2 separate regions of the Homo sapiens genome follow, and region 2 is linked to region 1. The links are contacts of gene promoters, found by promoter capture Hi-C in blood cells and fetal thymus (Javierre and others, 2016). All regions are on one chromosome and are shown on one strand. Each heading gives the region's core, a stretch centred on a gene start or on the middle of the fragment in contact. The rest is flanking DNA. Distances are from core to core; before and after follow the strand shown. Region 1 holds the start of PLA2G4C (phospholipase A2 group IVC). Region 2 has its middle 8.0 kb from the start of SNAR-C1.

Region 1 (5,557 bases), core at 1,417-3,916:
GGGAGAAAGACCCACAGACCCTGCAGGGCTGGTCCCTACAGTGGCGCAATCATAGCTCACTGCAGCCTCCAACTCTTGGGCTCAAGCAATCCTCCTGCCTTGGCCTCCTGGGTTGCTGGGACTACAGGCATGCACCACCACGTCTGGCAAAGTTTTAATTTTTTTGTAGAGATTGAGGTCTCACTATGTTGCCCAGGCTGGTCTCATTCTCCCGGGCTCATGCAATCCTCCTGCCTCAGCCTCCCAAGAAGTGGGGATTACAGGTGTTAGCTACCACACCCCACTAAAAAGCTGAGTTCTGTGTTTCACGACAGTGATATTATTTATAGAAGTAGCTGGGGAAGTTATAAATCATGCGACCCCTGGTTACGTGACTCTGGAGCACATATAGAAAAGGAAGCTAAGGGATGGCAGGTCATTCTTCAACCCACGACTGTTCTTTAGCAAAGTTCCAGCACCTTCATGATTCTAACCTTGTCTTATGAATGTGACTTCAGGCCAGGCACAGTGGCTCATGGCTGTAATCCCAGCACCTTAAGAGGCCGAGGTGGGAGGATCACTTGAGGTCAGGAGTTGGAGACCAGCCTGGCCAACATGGTGAAACCTTATCTCTACTAAAAGTACAAAAGTCACCTGGGCATGATGGCGGGCGCCTGTAATCCCAGCTACTCAGGAGGCTGAGGGAGGAGAATCACTTGAACTCAGGAGGTGGAGGTGCCAGTGAGCAGAGATCATGCCATTGCACTCCAGTCTGGGCAACAAGAGTGAAACTCTGTCTCAAAACTAAATAAATAAATAAAAAGTAAATGAATGTGGCTTCAATCTCTCAACAAGGACTGGGGGTCAGTTTTCTTTGTCTCAAAGTTTAACTATGAATTAAATTCCTCTCATGGTAATTTTGGCCTCTGCACTAGAATAAGAAAAAAAAATCTAGCCTGTGAGGTTAGAAACAAGATGGTCAGTCATGTTAGCTTTCTCTCATTACTTACATTTCTGCGAAGGCAGTTTCAAGACCCCCCTTATGAAATTAATCAGCTTCCCCCCACCACCTCCAAATTCATATGTTGGACTTGTAACCCCCAGAACCTCAGAATGTGACTGTATTTGGACATAGGATTCTTTTTCGTTGTTTGCTTTTTGAGACAGGGTCTTGCTTTGTCACCCAGGCTGGAGTGCAGTGGTGTGATCGTGGCTCACTGCAGCCTCAGCCTCCTGGGCTCAAGCGAGCCTCTCACCTCAGCCTCCCGAGTAGCTGGAAGTGCAGGTACATGCTACCATCTCCAGCTAAATTTTTTATGTTTTGTAGAGATCAGGTCTTGTTATGTCACCCAGGCTGGTCTTGAACTCCTAGGCTCAAGAGAGCTTTCCACCTTGGCTTCCCAAAACGCTGGGATTATAGGCATGAGTCATCGCACTCGGCCAGACATAGGCTCTTAAAGGGGTGACTAAGTTAAAGTGGGGTCCTGAGGGTGGCCTGGAATTTGGTTTGATTGGTTTATTTTATTTTATTTTTTTTTGAGATGGAGTCTCGCTTTGTGCCCTAGGCTGGAGTGCAGTGGCGCAGTCTCGGCTCACTGCAAGCTCCGCCTTCCGGGCTCACGCCATTCTCCTGCCTCAGCCTCCGGAGTAGCTGGGACTACAGGCGCCCGCCACCACGCCCAGCTAATTTTTTGTATTTTTAGTTGAGACGGGGTTTCACTGTGTTAGCCAGGATGATCTCGATCTCCTGACCTCAGGATCCGCCCGCCTCGTCTTCCCAAAGGGCTGGGATTACAGGCGTGAGCCACCGCGCCCAGCCTGATTGGTTTTATAAGGAGAGATTAGGGCCTCTGCAAGAGGCTTCAGGAGAAACCAACCCTGCCAACACCTTGATCTTGGACTTCTAGCTTCCAGAAGTGTTAGAAAATAAATTCCTAGCCGGGCGCGGTGGCTCACGCCTGTAATCCCAGCACTTTGGAAGGCCGAGTGGGGTGGATCACGAGTTCAGGAGTTTGAGACCAGCCTGGCCAACATGGTGAAACCCCATCTCTACTAAAAATACAAAAATTAGCCGGGTGTGGTGGTGTGCGCCTGTAATCCCAGCTACTCGGGAGGTTGAGGCAGGAGAATCGCTTGAACCCCGGAGGCGGAGCTTGCCGTGAGCCGAGATCGCGTCACTGCACTCCAGCCTAGGCGACAGAGCGAGATGCTGTCTCAAAAAAAAATAAATAAATAAATAAAATAAAATAAAATAAAAAAGAAAAAGAAATCCTGTTATTTAATTGCACCCAATCCCTGGTACTTGGTTATGGCCGCCCCAGCGGGATGAAACAGCCCTCCCTGCCCCCACGGCTTGCCTGAGCCTGGGTCTGGGGCGTGTGCGCATGCGCGGTGGAGCTTGTGCTCCGGAATCCGGTGCGGAGGCTTGGGCTCCCTGCGCTTAGCGGTGTAGTCGCTGGACAGCTCCTTCAGCCGGAATCTCCGCGGGTGAAGACTGCGGGGATCCTCGGTGCCAAAGCTTCTGTGGTCCTCCTGCTTTCCTTTTCCCCCTGTGGGAGGAGGTCGCGGGCTGGAGGTGTTTCCTCCTGGTCCTGAGCAGGGCCAACCTGGAGGTAAAATGGCCCCTGCGCCTTTAAACAGCCCTCCTCGGCTTGTAGGCCCTGCTTGGTTGCTCCAGCTTTTTCAGCTGTTCCAGAGCTCACCCGGAGCTATTTTCATCCGTGGGATCACGTGGAGGGCTGGGACTTTCCAGGCTTCCTTAGTGATGTCACCCTTCTGTCATTAGGCACCCGAGACCAGTATTCAAAAAAAGAATGTTGTCGTTATATAACTATATTGGAGATAAGTATTCCTCAAAACAGATTAGCTAATCCTCCTATGCATCTGGCTGTCTAATAACCATCATATATAATATCATACTCAAATACCCAGAAAAAGAAATATTGAGGCCAGGCGTGGTGGCTTACGCCTGTAATCCTAGCACTTTGGGAGGCTGAGGCAGGCGGATCATGTGAAGTCAGGAGTTCGAGACCAGCCTGGCCAACATGGTGAAACACCTTCTCTACTAAAAATACAAAAATTAGCTCGGTATGGTGGCGTGTGCCTGTAATCCCAGCTACTACTCGGGAGGCTGAGGCAGGTGCTTCATCCTGGGAGGTGGAGGTTGCAGTGAGCCAGATCCTTAGGGCCAACTCTGGTTCATTTAATGTCCATTTTTAGAAAACCTGTGAGCTCCATTCACAGTGAAGGTTTGAAGCCCAGAAGTGGCCTCCCAACAGGGTACCACATTTCCCAGCACCTTTGCAGCTAGGTGTGGTCATGTGAGCGAGTTATGTGGTCATGTGACCGAGTTCCAGTCAGTGCAATCGGGCATCTGTGGGGAGCACCGCTTCCAAGAGTGGCTCCTAGAAACCTCCCATACTACCCTCCTGCCTACTCTTCCTGAAGCCCAGCACTAAGCGTCATCCCAACTCGATGGGTTTTGAATTTTTTTTTTTTTTTTTTGAGATGGAGTCTTACTCTTTGTCGCCCAGGCTGGTGTGCAGTGGTGCAATCTCGGCTCACTGCAACCTCCGTCTCCTGGGTTCAAGCGATTCTCCTACCTCAGCCTCCCGAGTAGCTGGGAACATAGGCATCTGCCACCACGCCCGGCTAATTATTTTTGTATTTTTAGTAGAGACAGGGTTTCACCATGTTGGCCAGGCTGGCTCGAACTGCTGAACTCAAGTGATCCACCTGCCTCGGCTTCCCAAAGTGCTGGGATTACAGTTGCGAGCCACCGCACCCAGCTTGAATTCTTATTTTTTAAAAATAGATATGAGGCCATAATCCTAGCACTTTGGGAGGCCAAGGCAGGAGTATCACCAATTTTAGAACAGGATTTCACCAGGGGGAAGATGGTCTCCCCTGCTCCCCCTAACGCCAGGCTCACCTCTTCAGTGCCCGCAACTCCAACCATCGCAGGATCTTTTCACTCCTAGACCTGACCATGCCACTGCCCCGCCTGCGGGATAAGGTTCTACACCTCGCAGGAGCTCATGAGGCTCTCCACAGTATAGTTAGTAGTTATAGATGCAGGGTCAAGGAGCTGACAGCATGGACCAAACCCTGGCCCACCACTTCCTAGATAGTGGACCTAGGGAAGGTAACTTACATCCCTGTGCCCCTCAGTGTCCTCACCTGTTAAATGGGGAGAATAAAAGTACCTACCTGGTGGAGCCATCATGAGGGTCACTGAGGAGTGAGGATGACCCTGACTAGCTTCAGCAGAGGGACATGGCGGCCGTGTGTGGCAGATGTGTTCCTGGGGCCCTGCACTGGTGCAGGGAGGAAGAGCCAAGCCCAAAGGAACCATGGTCTCCACACAAAGCCAGTAATGTGGGGATCCCCTGACATACAACATTTACTTTTTTTTTTTGCCTTAAACATTTTATTTGAAATTGAAACACAAATGCACACTAATTTGCCAGTTCTTTAAGGCAGAGCTGTATCAGGAACTCTTAGCTATGAGAAACAAGTCTTTTTTTTTTTTTTTTTTTTTTTTGAGACGGAGTTTTGCTCTTGTTGCCCAGGCTGGAGTGCAATGGCTCGATCTCGGCTCACTGCAACCTCCTCCTCCCGGGTTCAAGCGATTCTCCTGCCTCAACCTCCTGAGTAGCTGGGAGTAACAGGCATGTGCCACTACGCCCGGCTAATTTTGTATTTTTAGTGGAGACGGGGTTTCTCCATGTTGGTCAGGCTGGTCTTGAACTCCCGACCTCAGGTGATCTGCCCGCCTCGGCCTCCCGAAGTGCTGGGATGACAGGCATGAGCCACTGTGCCCGGCTGAAAGCCATGTTTTAGAGTGGCATAATCGCCCTGGGGCTTATTCTTCCCCTACTCCCATGAACAAAAGCCCACAGTTAGGCAGCTGCTGCCCTAGGTTCGCCGGTTTAGGGTCGTCAGGAGAGTTTGTTACTCTTTTTCCTCATCATTACAAGGTGGTGACTTGGCTCCAGCCATCATCTCTAGTCAAGGCAGGAGGAGGGGAGGAGCTGCCACAACCAGGGCTGTCCTTTTTGGTCAGGAAAGATGTTTCTCCAGAAGTCCCCAGCAGCCCCTGTGCTTATGTCCCCTGGGTCTGCCCACACAGGGCTACAGGGCCACTGCTAGCCCCAAGGAGACTCGGAAGGCAATGTTGTCTTCTTGGGCTACAACAAATAGAAACAGAATGCCCAAGAGATTGTGTGCACAAGAGACCATGATGGAGACACAGGAAGAGAGACAGGGAGGCTGAGTCACAGTGACAGACAGCAAAGTAAGCCTGGCACAGACTTGCACGGCAGAGAGCAAAGCCTCGCAGATAGAGAAGGAAGGGGAGAGAGGGCGGGTGGGAGACAAGGGCAGAGGAACCTGATGAGAGAGAAGGGAAGGAGGGAGGGCAGATGTGAGAGGCAGAAACAGAGTGTGAGGGGCAGGGGACAGCTGGGAGCCCTGTGTCCCCCCTGCGGGAGTATCAGGACACCCTGACACTCTCATGCCCGGAAGCTCCTGTTCCACGCTGGGCCCCGGGGTTAGAGGCCTCCTGCTCTGGAAGACC
Region 2 (4,919 bases), core at 511-3,010, 150 kb before region 1:
CACTGAGAGCTTTTGAGCATGTAGCAATATCCTGCACAAATTTTGCATGAGTGTGTTAAAGACGGGTAAGTATTAAATGTCTCATGCAGCCGGATGCAGTGACTCACACCTATAACCCCAGCACTTTGGGAGGCCAAGGCAGGTGGATGAGTTGAGGTCAGGAGTTCGAGACCAGCCTGGCCAACATGGTGAAACCCCGTCTCTGTTAAGAATACAAAAATTAGCTGGATGTGGTGGTGGGGGCCTGTAATCCCAGGTACTTGGGAGTCTGAGGCAGGGGAATCACTTGAATCCGGGAGGCAGAGGTTGCAGTGAGCCGAGATTGCACCACCGCACTCCAGCTTGGGTGACAGAGCAAGACTCCGACTCAAAAAAAAAAAAAAAAGGTCTCATGGAGGAAGTCAGTTCTGTAGAATGACCCCACTGCAAGATGCTCTTCCAGTGCCAGGAAGTGGATTATGTTCTAGGAGCCATGAAGGAGAGTTTACAGAAGCCCATTCTCCGCTTCATCATCATTGTAACACAATGAAAGCTGATGACATGGCTGCTTGGCTACACTGTGTTTATCAGCTTCTCCTGCATTTAGAATGGGGGCATGTAACTACACACTCTAAGTAGGTGCTTACCCAGGTCCAGAGTCTCCAGGAATAAGATCAATGTAGAAGAGCAGCTACAGAAGGAGTCGGTTGACTTGAATGACATAAAAATAAATCATGGTAATTGCTTAAGCCTCAGCATTTTTTTTGTACTGTCCCATTTAGATAAATGAATAGAGTTTGACAACAGTCTTTCATGTCTTTGTTGGTGCCACCAAGCTCTGAAATTCCCAAGGAACATAATGTTTCTTCACGCGCTCCATTCTCGTAGGAGGCTAACTACGATGACGTGCAATGTGACTTTTCCCTATCTTAATAGCTGGGCCCAAGGGTCTGGGAACCGATGTGAGTCATACGCCTTTCTGAAAATATTTTTTTCAAACTGTATTACTCCTGGGCCCTGCGGAAATCATTGCAGAAAGTATTTGGTATCACACTGAGCTAACAGAGAAGTGAACCTAACTCAGGACTCTGTCTCATGTTCCTATAATCTTCCACTCTAATCACTGGATATCAGTGGTATTCCTAGTCCTTGAAAACTAATCTTTGCTCAAAACCAGTATTCAGTAGGCTCTGGAAAGTTTATGTATTTACCTTTGTAATTTCTTTCTTTCTTTCTTTCTTTCTTTCTTTCTTTCTTTCTTTCTTTCTTTCTTTTTTCTTTCTTTCTTTCTTTTTTCTTTCTTTCTTTCTTTCTTTCTTTTTTTTCTGAGAGACTAGAGTTTCGCTCTAGTCTCTCACGCTGGAGTGCAATGGCGCGATCTCAGTTCACTGCAACCTCCGCCTCCCAGGCTCAAGCGATTCTCCTGCCTCAGCCTCCCGAGTAGCTGGGATTACAGGAATGCGCCACCATGCTCAGCTAATTTTTGTATTTTTAGTAGAGATGGGGTTTCACCATGTTGGCCAGGCTGGTCTCGAACTCCTGACCTCAGGGGATCCACCCCCCTCGGCCTCCCAAAGTGCTGGGATTACAGGCGTGAGCCACCGTGCCTGGTCCCTTTGCATTTTCTTACTGTGTCTGCCTATGGCCTTATAGCAGTGCCTGGTTACCCAGCCTTGCCTTCACTCAAGGGGCATTGAGTTGGTGAACTGTCTTGTGCCTGGAACTGGGAGAAAAGCCATGACTCTAGCGCGATGGTTCCAGTCTGGCTGTTATACTGTGGATCTTCTGTGCAATGAACGTCTTTTTTTTTTTTTTTTTTTTGAGACAGAGTCTTGCTCTGTCACCAGGCTGGAGTGCAGTGGTGCAATCTCAGCTCACTGAAACCGCCCCCTCCCGGGTTCAAGCAATTCCCCTGCCTCAGCCTCCCAAGTTGCTGGGGCTACAGGTGTGTGCCACCATGCCAGGCTAATTTTTTGTATTTTAGTAGAGACGGGGTTTCACCATGTTGGCCAGGATGGTCTCGATCTCATGACCTCGTGATCTGCCCGCCTCGGCCTCCCAAAGTGCTGGGATTACAGGCATGAAGCACTGCACCTGGCCACAATGAATGTCTTTAAGTGAACTGTCAGTTGAATTCATTTCTGAAAAAAACCTATGATTATCACCACCAGATGTCGCTCTTGCACCAGCCATTCTCTATGATCTGATTAGTAATTATACCCTGTTGCCTGGTATCACTTTGCTTCTTAGGGATTAATTGCCACCACCTGGGCTCAATCACACCAGGCTCTGCCTGTCTCCACTGGAACCCTGAAGCTCACTTCAAAAAGCATGGCTTTCTGCTAGCATTCCTAGAGCGGAAAAGCAAGTCAGCCATATTCTTTACAAAAGATTTCCTATGCTTTGTGAAAGATTAAGATGAGATTTATGGGTTCACAAAGACAATGTTTCCGTTTTTTTAACCATAATCTATAGAAAGAATAGACTTTAAAATATGAGCTGACTTCTATCTATCCATCATCTATATCTTTCTATTTAGGCATCCCTATCTATCTATACAATCTCTAAACCTTTTTAGAAATAACTCATGCCATACACATGAAACACTCTGTGTTTTTCCATCCACGTTTGCAGTATTTTTAATTTAAACAATGCTGGTTGTGCTTTGATAAATGGAAGATTATGACTCACCATTTGAAAAGAGCTGGCCTAAGTGTGTGTCTTTCTTTTCTTTTCTTTTCTTTTCTTTTCTTTTCTTTTCTTTTCTTTTCTTTTCTTTTCTTTTCTTTCTTTTTTTGATGGAGTCTCACTCTGTCGCCCAGGCTGGAGTGCAGTGTTGCTATCTCGGCTCGCTGCAGCCTCAGCCTCCCGGATTCAAGCGATCCTCCTGCCTCAGCCTCCTGAGTAGCTGGGATTACAGGCGCCTGCCACCACACCTGGCTAATTTTTGTATTGTTAGTAGAGATGGGGTTTCACCATGCTGGCCGGGCTGGTCTCAAACTCCTGACCTCAGGTGATCCACCCGCCTTGGCCTCCCAGTGTTGGGATTACAGGCTTGGACCACCGTGCCTGGCCCTAAGTGTTTTCTAACATAAGCATGGATAGGTTTAAGAGTGGAGGGTGGGCGTTTGTGTGTGTGTGTGTGTGTGTGTGTGTGTGTTTGTGTGTGTGTGTGTGTGTGGTCACAGGGCCTCTGGACATTGCCATCCCCCTTCACCTCTGCACCTGCCTAATTGTCATTAAACTATCGGGACCCAGCCTGGTTGTTGTCCCTTGTCCCTTCCTAGAAGTGATCCCTGATCCTGCAGGCTGAGCAAGGGTCCCGTTCTCTGGCCTCCTCTTACCCCTGGAGTCTCTGGTTTTTTTTTTTTTAAATTAGTTAATTAATTAATGTATTTTTGAGACGGAGTTTCACTCTGTCTCCCAGGCTGGAGTGCAGTGGTGCAATCTCAGCTCACTGCAACCTCCACCTCCCGGGTTCAAGTGATTCTCCTGCCTCAGCCTCCTGAGTAGCTGGGATTACAGGCAGGCACCACCACACCCAGCTAATTTTTGTATTTTTAGTAGAGACAGGGTTTCGCCATGTTGGCCAGGCTGGTCTCGAACTGCTGACCTCAGGCGATCCACCTGCCTCAGCTTCCCAAAGTGCTGGGATTACAGGCATTAGCTGCTGTGCCCAGGCATATACTCACTGTTTTCTTGGCCATTCATGAACACGTGAACAGCAGGGAAGAACTGGAGTTGTTCAATGCCCTCATGCCCTGCTGAGGTTGAACAAGGTGATGCTCCACCTTCTTGTTTCGGCTTTCAGTGTATACAAGGGTCCTTCAGGCTGGGCGTGGTGGTTCACAACTGTGATCCCAGCACTTTGGGATGCCGACACGGGCGGATCACCTGAGGTCGGGAGTTCGAGACCAGCCTGACCAACATGGGGAAACCTCGTCTCTACTAAAAAATACAAAATTAGCTGAGTGTAGTGGTGCATGCCTGTAGTCCCAGCTATTTGGAAGGCTGAGGCAGCAGAATTGCTTGAACCCGGGAGGCGGAGGTTGCAGTGAGCTGATATCTCGCCATTGCACTCCAGCCTGGGCAACAAGAGTGAAACTCTGTCTCAAAACCAACCAACCAACCAACCAACAAACAAAACACACACACACACACACAAACAAAACAAAAAATAAACAAGTGTCCTTGTGATCTATTTAGTCTCATGTTTTTCCCATTTTTGTATTTTTTCTTGGCGATGTCACTGTTTAAATGACTCCCAAGTGTAGTCCTAAAAGCAAGGGGTTATGGCGCACCTTATGGAGAAAATATGTGTATTAGAGAAGCTTCATTCAGACCTGCATTCAGCCCTGTTGGTCTTGAGTTCAGTGCTAATGAATCGACATTATGTATTAAATGAAACATCTTTAAACAGAAACACATATAAAAGAAGGTTATGTATTAGTCAGTTAACAAAAACATTGTGACCAGAGGCTCTCAAGAAACTAACCTTCTATTTCCCCTAAAAGCACCAGCTCGGTATTCACTAATTCAGTGTACATGGCTACTTTCTAGAACACATTTACCACATACAGCAAGAATTGACTGCATCAGCTTATTTTAGATTCACAAAGACCTATGAGACTTCTATCTCCACTTTACAGATGAGGAAACTGAGTCTTAAGAGAGATCAAGAAACTTGCCCTTCATCAATGATGCAGCCTGGATAGCAAACATATCCTTTGTCCTGTTGCTCAAAGAATACTCAAGAAAGGCCAGGCGTGGTGGCTCACGCCTGTAATCCCAGCACTTTGGGAGGCCGAGGGAGGGTGGATCACTTGAGGTCAGGAGTTCGAGACCAGCCTGGCCAAATCCCCATCTTTACTGAAAATACAAAAATTAGCTGGGCGTGGTGGCATGTGCCTATAGTCCTAGCTACTTGGGAGGCTGAGGCA

Evidence for each region. Contacts are between HindIII fragments. The CHiCAGO score rates a contact against its expected background, and 5 or more counts as called.
Region 2: a contact is called between a fragment that was not itself captured here and the fragment with the promoter of PLA2G4C in region 1, in 12 of 17 cell types (megakaryocytes, M1 macrophages, M0 macrophages and 9 more). The highest score is 10.3, in megakaryocytes.

The regions. Positions count from the first base shown.
Region 1 is chr19:48,108,151-48,113,707 of GRCh38, forward strand. PLA2G4C (phospholipase A2 group IVC) reads right to left here and starts at 2,667. Exons shown (of 17, transcript NM_003706.3): 1 at 2,337-2,667. RefSeq lists an enhancer at 2,483-2,642. The HindIII fragment of the contact is 20,185 bases long and covers 2,496-5,557 here.
Region 2 is chr19:47,961,193-47,966,111 of GRCh38, forward strand. No RefSeq gene overlaps it. Among named protein-coding and RNA genes, the nearest start is that of SNAR-C1, 8.0 kb to the left of the region's middle. The HindIII fragment of the contact is 5,095 bases long and covers 1-4,308 here.